6 separate regions of the Homo sapiens genome follow, and all the other regions are linked to region 1. The links are contacts of gene promoters, found by promoter capture Hi-C in blood cells and fetal thymus (Javierre and others, 2016). All regions are on one chromosome and are shown on one strand. Each heading gives the region's core, a stretch centred on a gene start or on the middle of the fragment in contact. The rest is flanking DNA. Distances are from core to core; before and after follow the strand shown. Region 1 holds the start of KCNRG (potassium channel regulator). Region 2 has its middle 31 kb from the start of DLEU7-AS1. Region 3 overlaps DLEU1 (deleted in lymphocytic leukemia 1). Region 4 has its middle 69 kb from the start of DLEU7-AS1. Region 5 has its middle 110 kb from the start of DLEU1-AS1. Region 6 has its middle 67 kb from the start of DLEU1-AS1.

Region 1 (3,084 bases), core at 325-2,824:
CTCGGTTATTCTACCTAGTGTCCTCCAGTTGGTAAGCAAGACCAAGGAGTGTGTCGCTAAGAGAGAGAGACACTGGTATCCTTCCTGTTGGCTACTGCTCAAGTTAAGAAAATATCTTAAAATACGCCTACCTTTACCAAAAAAAAAAAAAAAAGTATATTTTAAATGATACCAATAAAGAACACATGCAGGCTTTTCTTTTCCTCCTAAAAATTAAAGCCAGCTTTCACAGTTGGTAAAATAATGGTAGGACAGCATTAAGACATTTTACGGGGGGAAAAATGTTTGTGACAGCAGAGTGGAAATCAGCGTTAGGATCCAGCCAAGAACAACAGAGGGAGTAAGTGAAGAATTGACTCAGGAGCAACTATCCTTAACATACTGACAGCCTATCCCAATATTTTGAGTTGTTTAAGAGCCAAGGCTGTAACAGGATACCAAATTTGCCATGAGATATATCTGTCTTTAAGGGTGTTTAAAAATAAAGTCAGCTGAAGGAAAAACAGTAGTTGAATCATAAAACTGAAAGAACAACTTATATAGTGTGTAAGGAACTCAAGAGAAACCAGTGAGCGAGCCTTTATGTGAACCACTGAAACAATCTCTTAAAAATAAGGCAATTCTTTTCTAAGTCAAATTCATTAGCAATGGAACATAATCTACAAAATTATTTTCTCCCATGATTTGAATGTCCATAGTCTCAGTTTTTTCTGGGCAGTCTTCATTTATTCCTTTTGTCCCACCTAATAATAGCCCCTTTCACTCTAAAAAGTATCCCAGTTTGGAAAATAATTATTTGGTCATTCTACCCAACTCCACTGGTTACCCCAAAACATTATTTTGAATAATCATCTTTTCCAGAAGTTACAGGCCTGAGGAACTTCAAGTTTTTAGAGAAAACATCACAAACTGGTATACAAGAGAAATACTGCAAAGTACAAAATACCTGACTCCAGTTTGGTTATCAGTAGTGCTGTCAGAACCACACTGGAAAACCAGGTCATGGTAAGAAGGTCTTTGTGGAGGCAGTGGAAGTAAGGTCATCTGAGGAGGGAAAAAGTTACCATTCCAGGTCGGCGCTGAAGGTTGTTCTGTAAACACTGTAATCCTCCCTGTTAGCATCTCAATTGTTTTGCTGCAAGAGCCAAACACCCTGAAAAAAGCTTGAGTGTTCCGGCTTAGGAAATGTACCTCCACAAGAGCAGGTCTTGGCTGTAGCAGGTATGGGTTTAAGAGATCAACTAGAGAACGAAGTTCATAGAAAAGAGCCTCTCTCTGAAGCCTAAGATAGTCTGAAAATTCAGTGGGTAATAAAAGCTGGTGAGTTCTCAAAAAATCTAAGATGAAACTAAACAAATCACCATCTCTGTCTACAAAAATCTGGCCACCAACCATCTTGAATTCTTGGTCTCTGCCATCTAACATGCGTGCCAAACGAGAAGCAGGAAACTGCTTTATCGTAGAAAACCTTGTCGTGAATATCTTCCCTCCCACATTCAAAGTGACCAGTTCCTGACTACTCATTCTTCCCTCACTTCAAACTAGAGGCTACCATCAGCCACACTTAGGAAATCAACCTATAACCATAAATGTTGCTAGTTATACATGATTATGCAGTGGAGGGGAGGGAAGAATAACAAAAACCAGACTTAGATTCCCAGGAAACTACTGTAAGGTAAATAGTGTATCCATGGCTGTGTTTGCAAATTCGAGTTGCCTGGGAACTTGCAGTATACAAAATGAAAAAGCAACAGATGAGGAACTAAATAGCTTAAGGAAAACTGCCAATATATCTGAAGATAGACATCAAATAGATCCCTTTCCTGTCTTACATTTAAAAACTTATCCATGAAAACCTAGTAAAACTATATATATATATATATATATATATATATATATATATATATATATATATATATATATTTTTTTTTTTTTTTTTTTTATTACTGGGAGGGGAAAAGCATTCTCCCTCCCCATACCTGTCTACCACGCAGAGGCTAGACTTAAACGTTTTTCTTAATTTCTTATGATCTCCTTAGAAATTTAGTGGCTAAATCATGAATTACATGTTAGGAATGAGACAGCCTGGCAAGCTCAATTTGACTATTCTCATAGCTAGAAGGAAATCATTTCTTCTGTGCTTTAAATTTAGTTGCCACCTTTTATCCTGTCCCCATTTTCATTACCTCCTCTCAACCAAATTAGAGGAGGACTGAGGTAAAGAACTCTTATTTTCAGAAAGTCTATTCCACTTAATGGGCTTTCAAGGAATATCTTACTCTATGACACAAATAAGGCAGACTAGAGAGCAGTTATAAGGTTACTTCTTTGTTATATGAATTCTAAGCAAGGTGTTTATTCCATGAGAGGGTATCTTTATCTCTTGTGAGCAGACAGAACAGCATTAGTGTTCAGCTGATTACTTTGTAATAGCTGACAGACTGTTTTATCTGTTGTCAAATTAGTCTTAACTACACTAAACATTCTTTCTGTAAGCAAGTGGATTGGTTTGGTTGTACACTTGCCATCTTTCGAACAAAACAACACATAGCTGCCAGAAAAAAGGTAGTCTTCCCATTTCCTGCTCTTGCCATGTGTTCTATATATACATATATATGTATATATATGTATGTGTACATATGTGTGTGTGTGTGTGTATATATATATATATATTTTTTTTTTTTTTTTTTTTTTTTTTTTTTTTGGTAGAGACTGGGTCTTGCTATGTTTACGAAGCTGGTTTCGAACTGGAACTCCTAGCCTCAAATAATCCTCCCACATCACTGTCCTAGAATGCTGAGATTATAGACATGAGCCACCCTGCCCAGCCAGCTGATCCTTTTTTTTAACCTATCTATGCTTTTGCTTGCATAGCCACTTAACATTTCTAGTTGATCATCTTTGGTGAAAACTACAAAAACAAAGGAGAAAAGGGCAGATTGAAAGCTCCACTCTCCTAAAAATGTAAACTTATCACAAGAAAATGCCAGGTTTTGTATGTACCATTCACATTTTGGTGATAATTAACTCTCTGTAGAAAATTTTGGAAATCTAATTAATTAGTACCTTCAATACCTTTAGTTG
Region 2 (3,125 bases), core at 320-2,819, 760 kb before region 1:
ATCATAATGCTATTCTCTGATACAAAGAATGTTTTTCTTTTTGTCTTTTGATCCCTAAAATTATTCTTCACAAAAAGACAACAGCCAACAGCTATCTGGTTCATTTTTATTTTTAAGTTCCCCAAATGTAAACATGTCCAGTAGTTCATGAGATGAATAGAAGAGCACCCACCTGATTTCTCATAGCTATGGGATGGAAAGAAGAAGGAGGAAGCAGCAGATGGAGGAAGTCAGAGATGGAGATTGAGAGTCTGGGTTTTAATCTGGTTTGGCTGTGTCCCTACCAAAATCTCACGTCAAATCGTAATCCCCACATGTCAGGGAAGGGACCTGGTAGGAGGTAACTAGATCATGAGGGTGGTTTGCCCTGTGCTGTTTTTGTGATAGTGAATGAGTTCTCACCAGATATGATGGTTAAAACTGTGTGCCAGTTCCCCCTTTGCTCTCTCTCTCCCCTGCTACCACGAGAAGACATACCTTGCTTCCCCTTCACTTTCTGCTATGATTGTATAAGTTTCCTGAGACCCCCAAGTCATGCTTCCTGTTAAGGCTGCAGAACTATGAATCAATTAAACCTCTTTTCTTCATAAACTACCCAGTCTCAGGTAGTTCCTTGTAGCAGTGTGAAAATGGACTAATCCAGGTTTGTCACTTGATCTTCCTGAGAGTGAGATATCCAGATGGTAAGAGATAGGTCTGGAAATGGAATGCATTCTGATGCCCACTGCGGTGTTCTGCTTACTTTATCATGCCCCTCCTAATGAAATATAAAGTTAGATATTTCTTAATACAGGGGAGGAAAAAGGTTAGAAAGGTGAGGGCAGGTTTATGGAAAGATGAAATTTACATAAACTAAAGCTCTCTCCTTACCTAGAACTTTGTGACATCTCAACGCTTCTTAGGGACATCTTTGATCTAATCCTGTTAAATGATGAGAGAAAGATATTACTTTAAACAATGGATTGTGGGAATGAACAAAAAAGGCTTCCCAAAAGAAGAAATTCTTCATGTAATGCCATGCATAAAAATGTGATAGAGTCTTATATTAGTGTTCTCTAAAGGGACAGAACTAATAGGATATATACATGGGTTTATTAAGGAGTATTAAACTCACATGATCACAAGGTTCCACAACAGGCTGTCTACAAGCTGAGGAGCAAGGAAGCCAGTCCGAGTCCCAAAGCTGAAGAACTCGAGGTCTGATGTTCAAGGGCAGGAAGCATACAGCATAGGAAAAAGATGTAGGTTGGGAGGCTAAGCCAGTCTAGCCTTTTCACGTTTTTCTGCCTGCTTTATCCGGGCCATGCTGGCAGCTGATTAGATGGTGCCCACCCAGATTAAGGGTGGGTCTGCCTTTCCCAGCCCACTGACTCAAATGTTAATCTCCTTTGGCAGCACCCTCACAGACACACCCAGGATCAATATTTTGCATCCTTCAATCCGATCAAGTTGACACTCAGTATTAACTGTGACAAGTCTATTAGTTCAGTGATTAGAAACTTAAATACTTTCCGTAGCCAGGAAAGTAAAGCAGGTTAGTTGTAAGTCTGTAGGGTGCTGTAGTGGCCATGGGAAGCTCTGGAGCATTTATCCCTTTTCAAAGGGGGAAGCCACTACTAAGTTCCAGCTTACTGGTGCCATGGGAGAATGTGGCCTAATATCACCCAAGATTCAACATTTTCAAGAGAAGATGGAAATCTGGATTTTCATGTGAAATGTTCAGCTTAAAAAACAAACAAACAAACAAGCAAAACCTATAAGCCACCAATAAGTAGTCTCTGTTTAAAACCATTATTTGATTAGGCTGCTTACAAACAAATGTAGAAACAGGATTTCTATTCCAGAACATGGCAAAAAAGATAATAGAAACCCTCCCTTAATAACAGATCTAGTAACTATAGATGAGATATGAAAATCAACATTTTAAATGTTTAGCCAAACTCTTTAAAGAGTGAGATAAAGCCCTGAAGTGGTGACCCTATGAGCTGATGGTATGCCTTTCCTGGATTTGGGGGTGAGGTAGTTTCCTGTCTTAGTGACCAAGAGACTTGGGTTATAATGACTATTTAGGAATAGGAATTGAGATCTGGGACCCACAAGAGGCTCACAAACCTCCTATGGAGCCATGACTCTTAAATGGTTAATCCCTTGTTAAAAGGAAGAACTATAAATAAAGCCACCCATCAATATAAGGATATGTCAGGGAATTAGCTATTTTAGCCCTGACTGTGGTTGGAAAAGAGCTCACAAAGGTGCAGGAATCCTGAAGCTAAGAAATTAGTGAAAAGTGTGCCCAGGCCAGTGACAGCACTGGGCTATCCGGCAATTCAACACAAAACCTCTTTGGAAGGCAGTACCCTTCACCAAGGACCATAGATCATTTCCACAGATAAAACTCAGCTGCAGATAAATTCAAAATCCAAAACTGAGTCAAAAACTCAAACATACAATGATACCATCTACCAAGAGTAGAAGTCAACTGACTGAATAAGTAACTTGATTTGACCCTTGAGGATATACAGGTAATACAAGTCCCAGAGAGAGATTATAAAAACAGGTATTGTAAAAATGACTAGGAGCTCAAAAAGGAATTTAAAATGTAAGAAACAAACAACATCTTCATGGGAATAAAAGGCTGATTTGAAAAAACAGATTTCCTAGAAATAAAAAACACAATTATTGAAAATAAAACTCAATTGATAGATTAAATAGTCACCAAAACAAAGCTAGAGGAAGATTTAATGCATGGAAAGATAAATGTGATGAAATTATCCCAAAGATAACAAAGGGAAAACAGATGAGAATTATAAAAAAGAGACTAATGGCAAAGTGAAAATTTGAATACTTTCCTGCCAATAGCTATTGTAAACTCTGGGAACAAACAATTCGGAGATAAACAAAAGCTAGCAGAAACTGGTGGGGATTTGACCCTTACTGAGTGAAATTCACATTTATATGTTTTTTTCCACTAAAGTTACTTCCCAGTCCATCTACGTGTAGCCCACAGAGCTGAAGCAGAAAGTGGTAGTCTTATGAGACTGAGGAATCAGAATATGGAGTTTGGGACTATATAGAAATTTCCCTCAAATAATTGGCCGATTCCTAGTCTACACATGCACAGGATG
Region 3 (3,527 bases), core at 323-2,822, 510 kb before region 1:
TTCATGTTACCTTTTATATTTTTTCTAAAGCCTTAAATATTCCTGAGAATGTGGTTTGCCATGCCTACAGATGAGCTGTCAGTAATTAAACCTATTTTTAGAATTTTTCAGTCACAAGTAACCCTGCAATAAACATCCTTATACCTAAATCCTTGTATTTCCTAAAAATATATCCGAAGTAAGGATAGATTCCTTAAGAAGGAATTATTAGGTCAAATATTGTTTACAGCTTTAAGTCTTTGAATACATACATATTGCCAACATTTCTAACCAGAAAATTTAAAAGATTGTTATACTTCCACCAGCAGTGGATGAGATTTTCCTTTATCTTGAACTTTTACCCAACTATGTAATTATCAAAGTTTTTTGAAATTTAAAATATTTGCTAATTTAATGGACAGAAATTTGTGTCTTTTAAAATTATTTTTAAATAAATAGTGAGCCTGAAATTTTTTCATGATTTATTGTCTAATTTTTTTCTGCTCGTACAAATTCCTTTTTTGTGAATATTGAAAATTTTTCTGCTTAGGATATTTATCTTCTAATCATTGACTTCGGAAGCTCTTCACATATTAACCATGTTAACCTTTGTCTTCTATTTTGCCCTTTTTTCAAGTTATTCTTTGCCTTATGTTTCTTTATCATGAGTTTTGATGTATATGTTTATAATTTTTATGTAAAAACATTCTGTTTTCTCTTTTATAGATTCTTCCTCTACCTTTTTGTTTAAAAAGTGCTTCCATACATTGAGAGTTGATAGATACTTATCATAATTTCTTTTACTCATTTGTGTTTTCATATTTTAAAATTTATTTAATTCATCCAGAATTTATTTAGGGATATGATTTGGGTCTCCTCCTTCCCTTAAAAACTGAATTAATTTCCCCAGCACTATTCACTGGCATAATCTTTCATTTCCTTCCCTAATTTGAAGTGTCTTCATCAAATACTAAATTCTTATATGTATTTGAGTGTGTTTGGGGACTCTATTCTCTTCTCTCTGTCTAGTTGTATACCAATATCATGTTATTAAAGCTTTATAACAGGTTTTTAACACCTGAAGTACAGTTTACCTTATTTGTTTATAAATCTTTCTTGGTTATTTTTATCCACAAATTATTCTAGATAAACCTTACAGTCACATTTTCATTCAAAAATATTCCAATTGGGATTTTGATTAGAATCATATTGGACCTAACCATCAATTTGAGGAACAGTGACATCATCCAATAATATAAAATATGTCTCAATTTATTCAAGCCTGATTTCATATTAACTAAAGTTTTACAACTAAATTGATAGAAGCCCTATATAAACAAACAAGTTTGTTTCCAGGTTTTATTGTTCTTATTCTTGCTTGTTTTGCTTTGTTTTTCCCCTGTTGTAAAAGAGCTCTTTTCCCTCTTTACGATTATTATCTGATTATGGATATTTTTTATATTTTGTAACCAGGTATCATAATGAAGCATTAGTTGTAATAGTTGATTTCTTAGGTTTTCCTAAATAGGTTATCCTTAAGAATTTAGAAATTCTCTACATAGTCATGACTTTGGGGTCTCAAAACCAATTCAACTTTTGGAATTACAGCTTTTATGCTTCATAAGCATAACTTCTTTTTCTAAATAAAATTGAAAATTAAGTGTGTAAAGTGACCAACTAAAAAGAACAAACAACTCTAAAACATACAGATTCCACTCCTCCACTTGGCTCTTAAAGGGTTAATTAATATTTACCATGAAGAATTTTTTTAATCTAATAAAAAAAATCAATCCAAAATATTCTTAAAGAGGCATTAATGACTCAAAATGTTATTTGGTTTTATATGGCCTCCCAAACTACAGTGTTTTTAAAAATCAGGTTTATCGAGTTATAATTTACATACAGTAGAATTCACCCTTTTCAGGCACACAGTTCTACAAATTTTTACAAGCATATACAGTCGAGTAATCACCACCTCAATCAAGACAGAATATTTCCGACACCCTGAGAAATTATCTGTGCCCCTTTGAAGTCAATCTCCTTCCTCTCACCCTCAGCCCCTGGCAATCTCTGATTTATTTCTGTCACTGGATATTCTGCATAGCTTCCAATCTATGTTTTTCAAGCTTCCAATCGGAGTCAAAGCTGGCCAGTAGCAACTAGCACAGAGTCCTCTGCTGCTCTTTTGAAACCACCTTTTCTTTGCTGACAACCAACAGATCAGTCTCCATAGTCAGCAAAGCTGAACTCCAGCTTTAGACACAGGCCAATTCCTCCCGTAAAACTTGGCCTGGCGTCAACTGGGCGGACATGCCCGGACAAGCCTGCTGGGGTAGCCGCGCCCGCAGGAGGGGAGGTCCTTACAACATGGAGCACCAGTTGCACACTGTCCCCTTTTGAGCTCTGTTCTCCTTTTTAGTTTGGAAGTCTGTGCGTATGTGTACATGTGTGTGGGTGCATGCATTGCAGAGCCCCAGTATACTTTGACATGTTTTCTGCATCTACAGTGTGAGTAATACAGTGGAGGGTAGATGAGCCAGCCCCTTCTGAGAAATACAGTAGTCCTCTTTGAACCTCTCCTCCTCCTGTCATCTGATTGCTGGATGGCGTTAGCCTGTGGTGTACTGGTGAGAGCCGGAAGGTCTGGGACTGGATCCCTCCTACTGAGTCAAAATACAACATAAAAACCTTGGGGGAGGATCTGAGGCTGAGAACCAGCTTCAGAAAATTATAAGTTGCCAAAGAAACACAATTTTAAGCATCATGTCTGAAGGAGTTAGGAAGGTTTTTCACTTTTGTCATTTCTGCTAAGGTCCTCTTTCTCCTCTGATACTTCTTTCCCCAGCTTTCTCCACATGATTTGGGCTGCTTTCCTAGTTCCCTTAAATACCGGTGTAAAGAAACCTGTCTGTGGTTTTATGTTACCCCATTGGAGTGTTGCATGTGAATATAGGGCATAAAAGGGGATAAATTGCCTAACTCAATCCACCCTCGAGGCCTGCCACATTAAAAAGATATACCACGGAACTTTCGTCTGCCCTGAAATGATTGGAAATACTGTGAGACTGCAGAGTTTAATGAAAACTCTGAGTCTCAACTTGAAGTAGATAGATAACTCTCTGATCTACTCTTGGGCCTATATATAACATTTTATATTTGTCAAGGCCGCTCAACATTCACGGTTAATAATTAGTCCTGGAAGAATATTTATAGCTTATGTTAATTCTTATCCCGGAGACATGCAAGGTTCAAAATAGGTGGGATAAAAGCACATTTGGGTAGGCTTAAATTCAAACCCACAGGCACTATGTACAGAAAAAGGCACTAGGTGTTTTTTAAATTGACTCAGAAAAAGTTAAAATGGAGAAACTTCTATCTGCTCACTTGGTCCTTCATGGGGAATTCTACCACTTCCCTTGGTCCAGCTCACTCAAGGCCAGTGCCATGACAACTCCTGGGTTGAGAATCACTGATTTAAATGGCATTTGACCACATCTGTCCCCACTTGTGGCTCTCTGCTCTGTAGATTTGCTGACTCACAGAGTCCA
Region 4 (3,579 bases), core at 186-2,685, 720 kb before region 1:
CAAAGTAATACTATTAAAATAAGGGTTTTTAATAGAATGGATGCATTTTTGCTTTGGTTCATTTGTTTGCATCTGTGAAAGTTCTTAAGTTGAGAGCTTGTAAATTTATATGTTTCTATATTTGAGACTATCGCCTCATATAGGCTTCCTTTAGAACCATAGACTTCAGAGATTAGCGATAAAAAGGCTTGGGGACCTCTTTGTTCCAGGACAGCAAATAGATTTCAGCTCATGTGTAGTCTTGAGTGGAATGGTAGTGACTGCCTGGTATACTGTTTTGTGAAGTTTTCTGTAAGTGATTAGCAATGCCTGTTCTATCTGTCATGGGAGTAGGCAGAACTCCATTAGTCTAATATCCTAATTTTATGCACACCAGGAAATTGAAATTCAGGTTTAGTCACAGAGAAACTTCAGAAAAGATTAAAAGAAATAAGCCTATGGTTTGTAAGTCTTTGTGTGGACATGGATTTAAATTGACTTGATTTTCTTATTAGGAAAGTTGCCCACAGGATTCCAGATGTTGAAAGAATGGTTTACTGTTACACTATTATGGTTTGAGGTTGTTGTGCATACCGTTTCAGTTTTCATCCTTTTCCCATTTGCCCATCATCAGGATGGAATGTACCAAGGGATCAATAAATAGAAGCCTAAATACTGCAGGAAAAAAATGTGTAAGCACCTTTTTGGAATAAAGCTTTTCAAACATTTTCAGGCTTAAAAGAACTTGAAACATTTAAATTCCTGTCAGGACTAAGGAAATGGAGCAGAAATCAATGAACTAGTGTGTGGTCTCGACAACAAGGCAGGGATCAACTCTCTACACATTCTCTCTCTATATGCCCTACCATTCATTAACCCATTTCTGATTTAATAAAAAAAAAATCTAGGCATCTAGAATCATTTCTTTGGGAAGCTTTACATGCCCCCAACAGGGAGTCTAGTGTCATTATGTATCTAAGCATTTGGCCAAAAGGGACTAGGTAGGGTTGGACTGTGCTGATAAGAAAGTGAGAATTCTCAGGGATCTGGCCACATCCCAGTTTTGGTCTCTTTGGTGTTGTGAGATGTAGCAGAAAAAGAACATTCCCTAGAAACTTTAATTAGAGATATGGCTGGTGAGAGAATTTTTGCAGATTCTCTCTCGTTCCTCTAATCCACCTATTTTTTACAAAAGGTAGTTCATATCTGGTCCCCTCCAGGATAAGCACAAAAGCCTCTTGAGAGTTAAAAAATCAGTCTCAGAAAGTACCTAACACCCATGTCTCTGTTTCTCTTCTCATTCCTTCCCCGTCTGGGTTTTGGCTCAAGGTTTGCCTGTCTCCAGATGGCATTTGCCTTCATCTCCATTCATAACTGAGTGTTAAAGGCCTGCCCTTTGTTCATTCATGGATTCACCTACTAGGCCATGAAGGTCTATTCAGTCAACAAACATTTATTGAATGCCTACTGGGTTACTGTTGGAAACAAGTCAAATTTGGTTCCAGATGATGCAGATCTTCTAATCTGGACCACAATGAAATTTACACAGAAGTGGTATAGTAACAGTTGTGTTCTGTGTCCCAAAGAAGAAAAAAAGGGAAGCAACCCAGCCTGAGAGGTCCGAGAAGAATTTACTGAGAAAGCAGTCTTGTATCTAACTGCTGAAGAATGAGTAGGATTGAGCTAGGTGGGAGGAGAGGAGGAAATAAAGGAAGAGCATTCCTGGTAGGGTAGGTCCCTGGTAAAGCCGCAAGGCAGGAAAGAACATGATAAGAAGAACAGAAATCAGGCCAGTGTGGCCAGTGTTTGTGTGTGTGTGCGTGTGTGTGTGTGTGTGTGTGTGTGTGTGTGTGTGTGTGTGTATTATTTTTTAGAGGCTGCTCACTGGGAGATGTCCAGAATGAGGATAGAGAGGTAGAAAGGGACCAGATCACCTAAGAACTTGTAGATCATGTTAAGAATTTTCAGCTTAAGCTTATGAACATCGCATGAGTTTAAGTAGCCAACACAGTACACCTCAGATACTATCTCTTTCAAGAAACTTTCCCCCATTTTCTTCCAGCATGTTATTTGAAAATACATGATATTCATCTTGTATCACAAATATATAAGTATGGATCTGTCTCCACTATACTATGATCTCATTGTAGGCAAGATTTGTATCTTTTTCATCTTTGTATGATTTGCTGTGTAGGTAGCAGGGTAATGTGGAAAGAGTTTGTTGGCATGGGAAGAACTTTGGAATCAGGCAGGTTCTTGTCATTACACTTTTTCCAATTCCATGACACTAATCATGTACCAAAAGCAGTAGGAGGGCCTACCCTGGGTGCAGGCAATAAGATGTGCATTGCCATTGAGAATTTAAAAACAAGAATAAGTCTGACTGAACGTTGGTCTGCTTTTTATTATCACCATGTACTGGCAATTCTAAACAATGTCAGTGATAAAATACTCCTCTCCCAAAAAATATCTTGTGAGTCTAGGTTTGAAACAATGGCAGTGGTTACTGCTGAGGTTTTTTTCCCAATGTTTTATTATGAAAAATTTCAGACATATAGAAAAGTTGAAATAATTTTATGTTAAGAACTCACCATCTAAATTCTACCATTAACATGTTATACTGCTTCATCTATTAAACTTCATAAACCAACCTCTGCTAGTTCCAAGCATTTCTTCTGCAGCTTTCTTAGCCTTTACAGAATTGAAAAGAGTCAGGGTCTTGCTCTGAGTTAGGCTTTGGCTTAAGGGAATGTTGTGGATGGTTTGATTTACTATCCAGACCATTCAAACTTCCTCCATATCAGCAATAAGCAATCACTTTCTTATCATTCGTGTGTTTACTGGAGTAACACTTTTAAATTGCTTCAGGAATTTTTTTCTTTGCATTCACATCTTGGTTTACAGTTTGGTGCAACTGTAGCTTTTGGCCCATCTTGGGTTTTTACAGGCCTTGCTCACTAAGTTTAATCATGGCTAGCTTTTACTTTAAAGCAAGAGACATCAATTTAAAGGAAGAGAGACATTTTCCTTTCACCTGTACACTTAGAGGCCACTGTAGGGTTACTAATTGGCTTTACTGCAATATTGTTGTGTCTCAGGGAATTAGAGGCCCAAGGAAAGGGAGAGAGATGGGGAATGGCTAGTTGGTGTGGCAGTCGGAACACGCACAACATTGATCCATCAAGTCTGTCATCTTCTATGGGCATGGCTTATGGTGCCCTAAAACAATTACAATAGTAACATCAAGGATTACTGATCACAGATCACCATAATAGATATAATAATAATTAAAAAGTTTGAATTATTGGAAGAATTACCAAAATGTGATCACAGAGACACAAAACAAGCACACGCTGTTGAGAAAATGGCTCCAATAGACTTGCTGATGCAAGGTTGACACAAACCTTAAATTTGTAAAAAGAAAAACCCTTAATATCTGTGAAACACGATGAAGTGAAGCATAATAAAATGAGGTATACCTGTAATAGGTTAAATTTCAAATGTTAAACTGATCTTGAATTCCTAGGATAAACTCCATTTGGTCATAATGTATTATCTTTTTATATTTTGACTATTTCAATTTGCTAATATTTTGTTAAA
Region 5 (3,154 bases), core at 539-3,038, 620 kb before region 1:
GAGATATAGATGGAAGATAAAAAAAATAAGACTCTACAGAACTAAATTTGCACTGGAAGTCTCAATATGAACTCTCAATATATTTCATGCTAAAAAAAATCCCAAGAAACAATGAACAACCTAGTAACAATGAATGCTCCCAGTTTCTAGACTGTGGCCCACATACCATTTTTCAGTAAAAGAAACCAAGATTCTCAAGAGAAATATGATTCTAGATCTGAAATACACAAGATGAATCAAATGATTCAAAAGCCAACTCAAATAGGCTCCCACTGGCCAAAGATGTGACATTTATGCATTCAAAAGAACAAAGACGGCCGGGCGCAGTGGCTCACGCCTGTAATCCCAGCACTTTGGGAGGCCGAGGTGGGTGGATCACGAGGTCAGGAGATCGAGATCATCCTGGCTAACACAGTGAAACCCCGTCTCTACTAAAAATACAAAAAAATTAGCCTGGCGTGGTGGCGGGTGCCTGTGGTCCCAGCTATTCGGGAGGCTGAGGCAGGAGAATGGCGTGAACCTGGCAGGCGGAGCTTGCAGTGAGCCGAGATCATGCCACTGCACTCCAGCCTGGGCAACAGAGCAAGACTCCATCTCAAAAAAAAAAAAAAAATAGCACAAAGACTGCAATTAGCTAAAAGATGCAAAATATATTTAAATTCATGACTTCATAATTTTTTTAAAAAAACTCAGTAGTTATCTTCAAATATTTTTCATTATTGAAAACAGACAAATTAAGGGAGAGAATCAAGCACCTATCCTGTCTTCCCCATTAGAAACAGCTCTGAATAACATAACGGTCAATCAGGGAAAGTTTCTCTTTATAGAAGTTATTATTCTGGCTAATAAATGAAGAAGTAACATAGACTAACACCATTTAAAAAATCCCTAATGAATTAACAGAGAACCATATTAATTAATGCCACAAGGATACAATTGACAAAATCCAAACTGTGGGAAACCTTGGCTTATTCAACAGATAAATTGAAAGGACTACATAACAAGAGGTGGAAATAGAACTTATTAATTAATAAAGACTTAGGAACATATCCACTAGTCACAAGATTTCCAGTGATCTCACAAATATAATTTTTAAAGTTTGGTTTATTTGAATCCCGTTTCAAAGAAACTGAACTTTAAAAATTGTATTTATGAGACCACTGGAAATTTGAATACCGAGTTCTCTAATCAGCAGAAACAGATCTAATCAGCAGAAATGGATACTGAAGATTATTCTGAAAATACAGCCCATAAGGAGTTTGCAGAAATCCTTGGGAGGGTAATAGACTTCCCATGATCTATGGGAGGGCTATTGCAGTTCCAAAAGCTTATGTCTAGGTCCTTCCACCCCATAAGCCCTAATACATGCATTAATCACCCTTTTTCACCCTAAGTGACCAAATAACTGATCTGAGGAAGCACCCAGGAGGCTTGGGATATACTCCTGATTGTCATTAGTTACCACATGACTTACGACCGGCACTCAATTTATTTGGTCCTCAGTTACCACATTGGTACAATGAGAATAGCTTCAGGTTCTAAACATGACAATGATTCTATTCTAACTCGTGGTGTTGTGAATTGGTGCAAGGGGTGGGTAACCAGCAGCGAGCAGACTGAAACTCACAAATAGGTCCGCAGGTGATGTGTCCTTTCTTGTGTTGGCATCCCCAGAGAGGCGGACTATGGCCAGAGCAGCGACAAACACACTGAGGGGCCTTGCGGCAAGGGAGACATCCCACTTCCTGTTGTTTTCCATCGTTATAGGAGTGGGGTCTGTCTCTGAATTACAGCCTCTTGGTGTGAGAGCAGTCTGAGAAAATCAATATTTTGGGCTCAGCTACTAAGCTGCCTGAGCTTAGGTTCTAGCTGTTTAGGGGATTGCTAGGAAATGCCAGAGGCTCAGCACCTGGAGGCTTTAGGGGTCCTAAACCTGTGGGAAGTTAGTTTGAGACAGCCACTCCCACTGGAGAAAGGAATGTCCCTGGTCCTATGAGAACTTGTAGCCTCTCCTAGGAGAGGTGGGGCTTTCAGGCTACCTTGGTTGCCAGGCAACCCAGAGAAAGCTCTCAGGCCAGGGTAATTTACATACTCATTCTGCTTGTCTCCACAATTAGGTATCTATGTGGGTAATTTACTTAAACAAAGTTTGACATTTATTCATATTGTTACCAAGCAAAAGGCCTTGCTGCCTGAAGTGCTAGAAACCAATACTATGACACTGGGGTTTTGAGAAAATAAAAGCTTTTTATTGTAGGTCGACCAACAAGGGGACAGAAGTTCAGCTCAAATCTGTCTCCTTGTGCTGACTTTAAGGCAGTATTTTTATTAGAAAAGGGTTAGGGGTGGATTCTGAGATTAACTGGTGATTGGTGGAAGGAAAGGGGAGATCCAGAAAATCCTTGGCACACACAGTTATCTCTGCACGCTTCCTCATGGGTCACATGTTGCAAATTTGGGGGAAGTTAGTGTGAAACATGCAGTGGAAATTTGGGTTGTGACATCAGCAAGCTCGTTCTGCACTGACTCCATTTGGCCATATTGGTTCCAACTGATTTCAGCTAGGTTTGTTATGTTGCAAGCAGAGGGAGTTTCCGCATTTCAGCAAGTTTTTTCTTTTCTTATCTAGTCACTGGTTTCTTTAACTGTTTGGGTCACAGTTTCAATAATACAAAATGTCTTGAGTTTCTAGCATGAGAGAGGAACAAGAGACACAGCAATGAAGAGGCCAGATGGCTCATGGAATTTTCATTCTAGACTATGACATCTCCAAAGTGTCTATAATTTTCTATTCATTTCCCTATGTTTGCTGTAATGCTTTGCCCTAAAGATACAAAAGGGTATGGATTCTTCACTGCATTTTCTCTTATCTCTATCTCTCTGTAACATTTCTTCTTCTGTAAAGGGAACAGATTGGAATTGACAGACTCTAAGGATCTTTTCAGGGCAGAAGTCTTGTTATATGAACGTTACGGTAATTAAAAAGACACCTGGGAAAGAGTCATATGAAAACTGAACTCAGAAGGAGAGCCCTAGGTGGAGGACAATGGGGAACTGGAATTTCTTTGCCCTGATTTCAGAAGCTTCCAGTTGTTTCTGAGATAGCTCTTGAAAAATTGCTGTTAACCTGGTACTCTCTAGTCATAAACATGCT
Region 6 (3,415 bases), core at 634-3,133, 580 kb before region 1:
TCCAGCTGCACTTTACCTCTGCAGGTGGAGGCTCCCAGCAAGGCTCTGCTGAGGGCACTGCTGTGGCTCCCCTGCTCACACTTGGGGTCCTGTGGCTGAGTCTAGCCTTTCTTCCTCCTGCACACTGCCTGCCCCATCGCTTTGACAGAGGGGAGCCCCTCAAGTGCATCTTTGGAGGGGACAAGACACTGCTTGATATCCTGAAACATAAAGAGGCAGCATGCATCACTCAGCCACATAGCCCACATGTCACTTCTATCAGTGAAGCCTTTCAGTTTCCACCCTTGTGCTCCTGGCAAATGTGATGGCCCCGATGGCTCTTTGCTCAGTGTGATGGCCCCAGGCACCCTTTGCTCATCTTATGTTCACTTAAGTGGCTGACTGTCCCACGAGTAGAAGCCGGGAGCAGGAGCCACAGTATCTCAGTGATCTTTGTGTCCTCCACCTCTTACCTAGAACATAAGAGGTCCTCGGTAAGTTTATCAAATGACTCCCTGAACAAATGCACATTAGGGAATGTAAATCTTCTTTTCAGATACTGCTCTTGTCTCATCCACCAGTTGCCTTTAAGCAAGTCATTGGTTTTCAATTTGTGTGTGTGTGTGTGAACAAAAAGCTTCTTCACACCAAGTCTTACTTGGAAGACCCTGGCCCCCCAATATATAACATGATAATAGTGAAGTTCATCTTGTTCACATAAAATGGGGAGGCCGTGGGAGCCTCAGTACCACCCACTTGCCATCCCCTCAGCTAAAATCCTCCACATATATAAGTTCTTTTACTTTTCTCTGACTCAAGCCAAATCTTTCTCCCCTCGTGGCAGCTTCTCTCTGATCATCCCAGCCACGGGGGCCCTGCCCGTTTCTGAACTCCTAGGAGTCCTACTGTGTACTCTTGTAACATATACAGAGTTTGTACCAATGAACACTCACATTCACTAAGTCTTGCTGAAGGCCAAGTCCAGTGACATGCACTTTACATACTTATCTCATTTAATCCTCAGGGCAATCCTAGGAGGTATATACTCTCACTATCTCCACTTTACTCATGAGAAAATAGAGGCTCAGAGAGGTTAAGCAATTTGCCAGGGTCATATAGCTATGAACTAGCAGCACTAGGATTTAAACCCCGAGCTAACCCATTTACTGTTTCTACTTTTGATGTGCCATTATTTGATCTTTTCAAGTATATTGTGAACTGAATTGTAGAAACTGCATCTCTACTTCTTTCTCTTGTTGCCCGATTTTTAATACAATGCCTTTAGCAAGAGTATAATTAATAATTTCAGATTAACAAATTCCCCAAAGTATATTGTATCTTTCCTCACTTCTGCCTCCTCTAACATCTGTCTGGCTAGAGGCTGTCAGCTGCTGCATTGGCTATGGTCTCACTTTCTTTCTTCCCCGAAGAAAATTGTCTTTCTGAAGCCTGCAAAGGAAGTCTCCACTGCTGAAAATATTAAGCACTTTCTCCAAAGGCTGGAAGCTAAGCAGGAGTTTCACAGGAGGGAAAAAACAACAGTGACCCCCTCAAATGGAGAGGGGAGGCTCAAGACAGGAAATCGAAGGTAAGGTCAGAGCAGCTCCAGGGAGCAGGGAGATGGACTGAAAGTGAGACTATTTAGATTTTTACCATTTGGGACTCTCCCTGCAGTTTAACTTGACTACATTTTAAAAACAGCCAAGTAGTGAAAGCCCTGCTCTCTGTGAACTCTGGCCTCTCTGCCTGTTTGGGATGTCAGAGAAAGGCTGCACTTTGTGTGAGGCAGCCCCAAGGGGCCACCCGGTGGCCTAGGTGGGGTGATTGATTGGGAGAAGTCCCAGGGGCACCGCCTTCCCGCCACTGCCTTGCACCTGCACTGCGGATAAACAGAGGCTGTGGTCTGCAGGCCCCCCCCCACCCGCCCCCGCCTGACCTACCCCCAGCCTTCGCCTCCTCTGGGCCTCACCCCATGGGGCCCTCTTACTTGAAAATTAACCACAGGCTTAAAGTGAAAAGAGAAGAGGCCTACACTGGCCCAAAGCATAGGCAAGTGAAATAGACAGCAAATAGAGCCACAATAATGCAGGCACCTCTGCACTCGAATAATGCAGGCACCTCTGCACTCGAATCTTAGAATCTGTTCCCTCTCATGAAACTCAATTCCAGTTTTTTTGGCCTTTACTACGGTATATGTCACAAGATTGCCAAAATGTCAGATGGTTAACCACCTTTCATTCTGATTGCTGATTTGAAAAGTTTAAAGTTAATTGGGGATTTCAACAGAAGTCTTCTTTATCTTAAAGTATTTGAAACATTTATCTTTTCTTTGGAAATATAATAAATAGTCTTCAATACCAATATATTTACAACATACTTAATAACTAATCAAATTTTCTCTTTAATGACCTTTGCACTATGCACATGAGCAATGTCTTTAAAAACAAAACACACGCACAGGCATGCACACCCACAGAGCAAAACATGCTTTGAAAAAGGAAAGCAAGAGACAGGGAATAGACATGGTTAGGTGACTGTGCACACGGTTGTGCTTTCTGACTGAGACAAAAAACAAAATTGTTTTTAAGATATATATATTCTATTATTGTACTATGCACTAATGAAAGTTGCTATTGTTATAGATAGATACAAAAACTTAACACAAAACCCTTAGTAAGTGCTGAATTTAAAATGTTCAATGTTGCCTATCAATTTCCTGAGTCTCCTAAGACCTAAATCATATGGATAGCTTTTTGCCCTGCATCCTTTACTTCTTTCTCTTTCTTTAGAAAAATCAGAATAGATTATGCCACATATGGAGTTAAAAAAACACATAGTCTGAAGGAAAGTTGTCTGCAGAGAGAGAAAACAAATAAATAAATAAGTCTACAAATAAACCCAACAGCAAAAGCCACCACAAGTAAGTTGAAAGCAAGTCAACTAGAAAAAAATTGCAGATTGTATCACAAGGGATTCATTTCCTTTATACATAAAGAACTCTGACAAATCACTAAAAAAAACTTCAACAATCCAATGTAAAAAATGAGCAAAATAAATAAACGAACAGCTCACAGAAAATGAACTGAATGTAGCCATTTAAAGTATGAAAAGATGCTTACTCCTCTCAAATGGAAAGACTGAAAAAGAAGAATGTTGGGGGAATAAGCTTATGAGGGGTGAGAAGATATAAAACCTTTACAGAGGATAATTTAGCCAAATATGTCAAAATTGCAAATGCATTTACTCTTTGACCTAGAAATCCCAATTCTAGAAATTAATCCTATGTATGTTATTTTACAGGTGTGAAGTGACATACAACATTATTTACTACCACACTGTAATAGCAAAAAGTACTTTTAGAAATCCAAATGCCAGTCAACAAGGGTCTAGTTAAATGAATTACAGTTCAGCTCCACAATTTTTTATTTGAAACCCT

What was found. Contacts are between HindIII fragments. The CHiCAGO score rates a contact against its expected background, and 5 or more counts as called.
Region 2: a contact is called between a fragment that was not itself captured here and the fragment with the promoter of KCNRG in region 1, in 3 of 17 cell types (total B cells, naive B cells and naive CD4 T cells). The highest score is 8.7, in total B cells.
Region 3: a fragment that was not itself captured here is called in contact with the fragment with the promoter of KCNRG in region 1 in 2 of 17 cell types (total CD8 T cells and megakaryocytes); the score reaches 5.3 in total CD8 T cells.
Region 4: a contact is called between a fragment that was not itself captured here and the fragment with the promoter of KCNRG in region 1, in 1 of 17 cell types (naive B cells). The highest score is 5.2, in naive B cells.
Region 5: a contact is called between a fragment that was not itself captured here and the fragment with the promoter of KCNRG in region 1, in 1 of 17 cell types (naive B cells). The highest score is 5.1, in naive B cells.
Region 6: a contact is called between a fragment that was not itself captured here and the fragment with the promoter of KCNRG in region 1, in 1 of 17 cell types (total B cells). The highest score is 6.2, in total B cells.

What each region holds. Positions count from the first base shown.
Region 1 is chr13:50,013,934-50,017,017 of GRCh38, reverse strand. KCNRG (potassium channel regulator) reads right to left here and starts at 1,574. Exons shown (of 2, transcript NM_173605.2): 1 at 947-1,574. The coding sequence starts at 1,524. It overlaps TRIM13 (tripartite motif containing 13), which reads right to left. Exons shown (of 2, transcript NM_213590.3): 2 at 1-3,084. The region is part of intron 10 of DLEU2 (deleted in lymphocytic leukemia 2); the gene reads left to right. The HindIII fragment of the contact is 12,687 bases long and covers 1,166-3,084 here.
Region 2 is chr13:50,775,533-50,778,657 of GRCh38, reverse strand. It overlaps a transcript of DLEU7 not described here. Among named protein-coding and RNA genes, the nearest start is that of DLEU7-AS1, 31 kb to the left of the region's middle. The HindIII fragment of the contact is 3,595 bases long and covers 1-3,125 here.
Region 3 is chr13:50,528,298-50,531,824 of GRCh38, reverse strand. It overlaps DLEU1 (deleted in lymphocytic leukemia 1), which reads right to left. Exons shown (of 7, transcript NR_109974.1): 7 at 3,182-3,527. Among named protein-coding and RNA genes, the nearest start is that of DLEU1-AS1, 2.6 kb to the right of the region's middle. RefSeq lists enhancers at 1,476-2,164, 2,165-2,853, 1,794-2,993. The HindIII fragment of the contact is 1,070 bases long and covers 1,038-2,107 here.
Region 4 is chr13:50,737,225-50,740,803 of GRCh38, reverse strand. It overlaps a transcript of DLEU7 not described here. Among named protein-coding and RNA genes, the nearest start is that of DLEU7-AS1, 69 kb to the left of the region's middle. The HindIII fragment of the contact is 1,040 bases long and covers 916-1,955 here.
Region 5 is chr13:50,635,066-50,638,219 of GRCh38, reverse strand. No RefSeq gene overlaps it. Among named protein-coding and RNA genes, the nearest start is that of DLEU1-AS1, 110 kb to the right of the region's middle. RefSeq lists enhancers at 1,853-2,147, 2,544-2,743 and a silencer at 1,853-2,147. The HindIII fragment of the contact is 917 bases long and covers 1,330-2,246 here.
Region 6 is chr13:50,592,999-50,596,413 of GRCh38, reverse strand. No RefSeq gene overlaps it. Among named protein-coding and RNA genes, the nearest start is that of DLEU1-AS1, 67 kb to the right of the region's middle. RefSeq lists an enhancer at 1,438-1,637 and a silencer at 1,738-1,937. The HindIII fragment of the contact is 2,529 bases long and covers 619-3,147 here.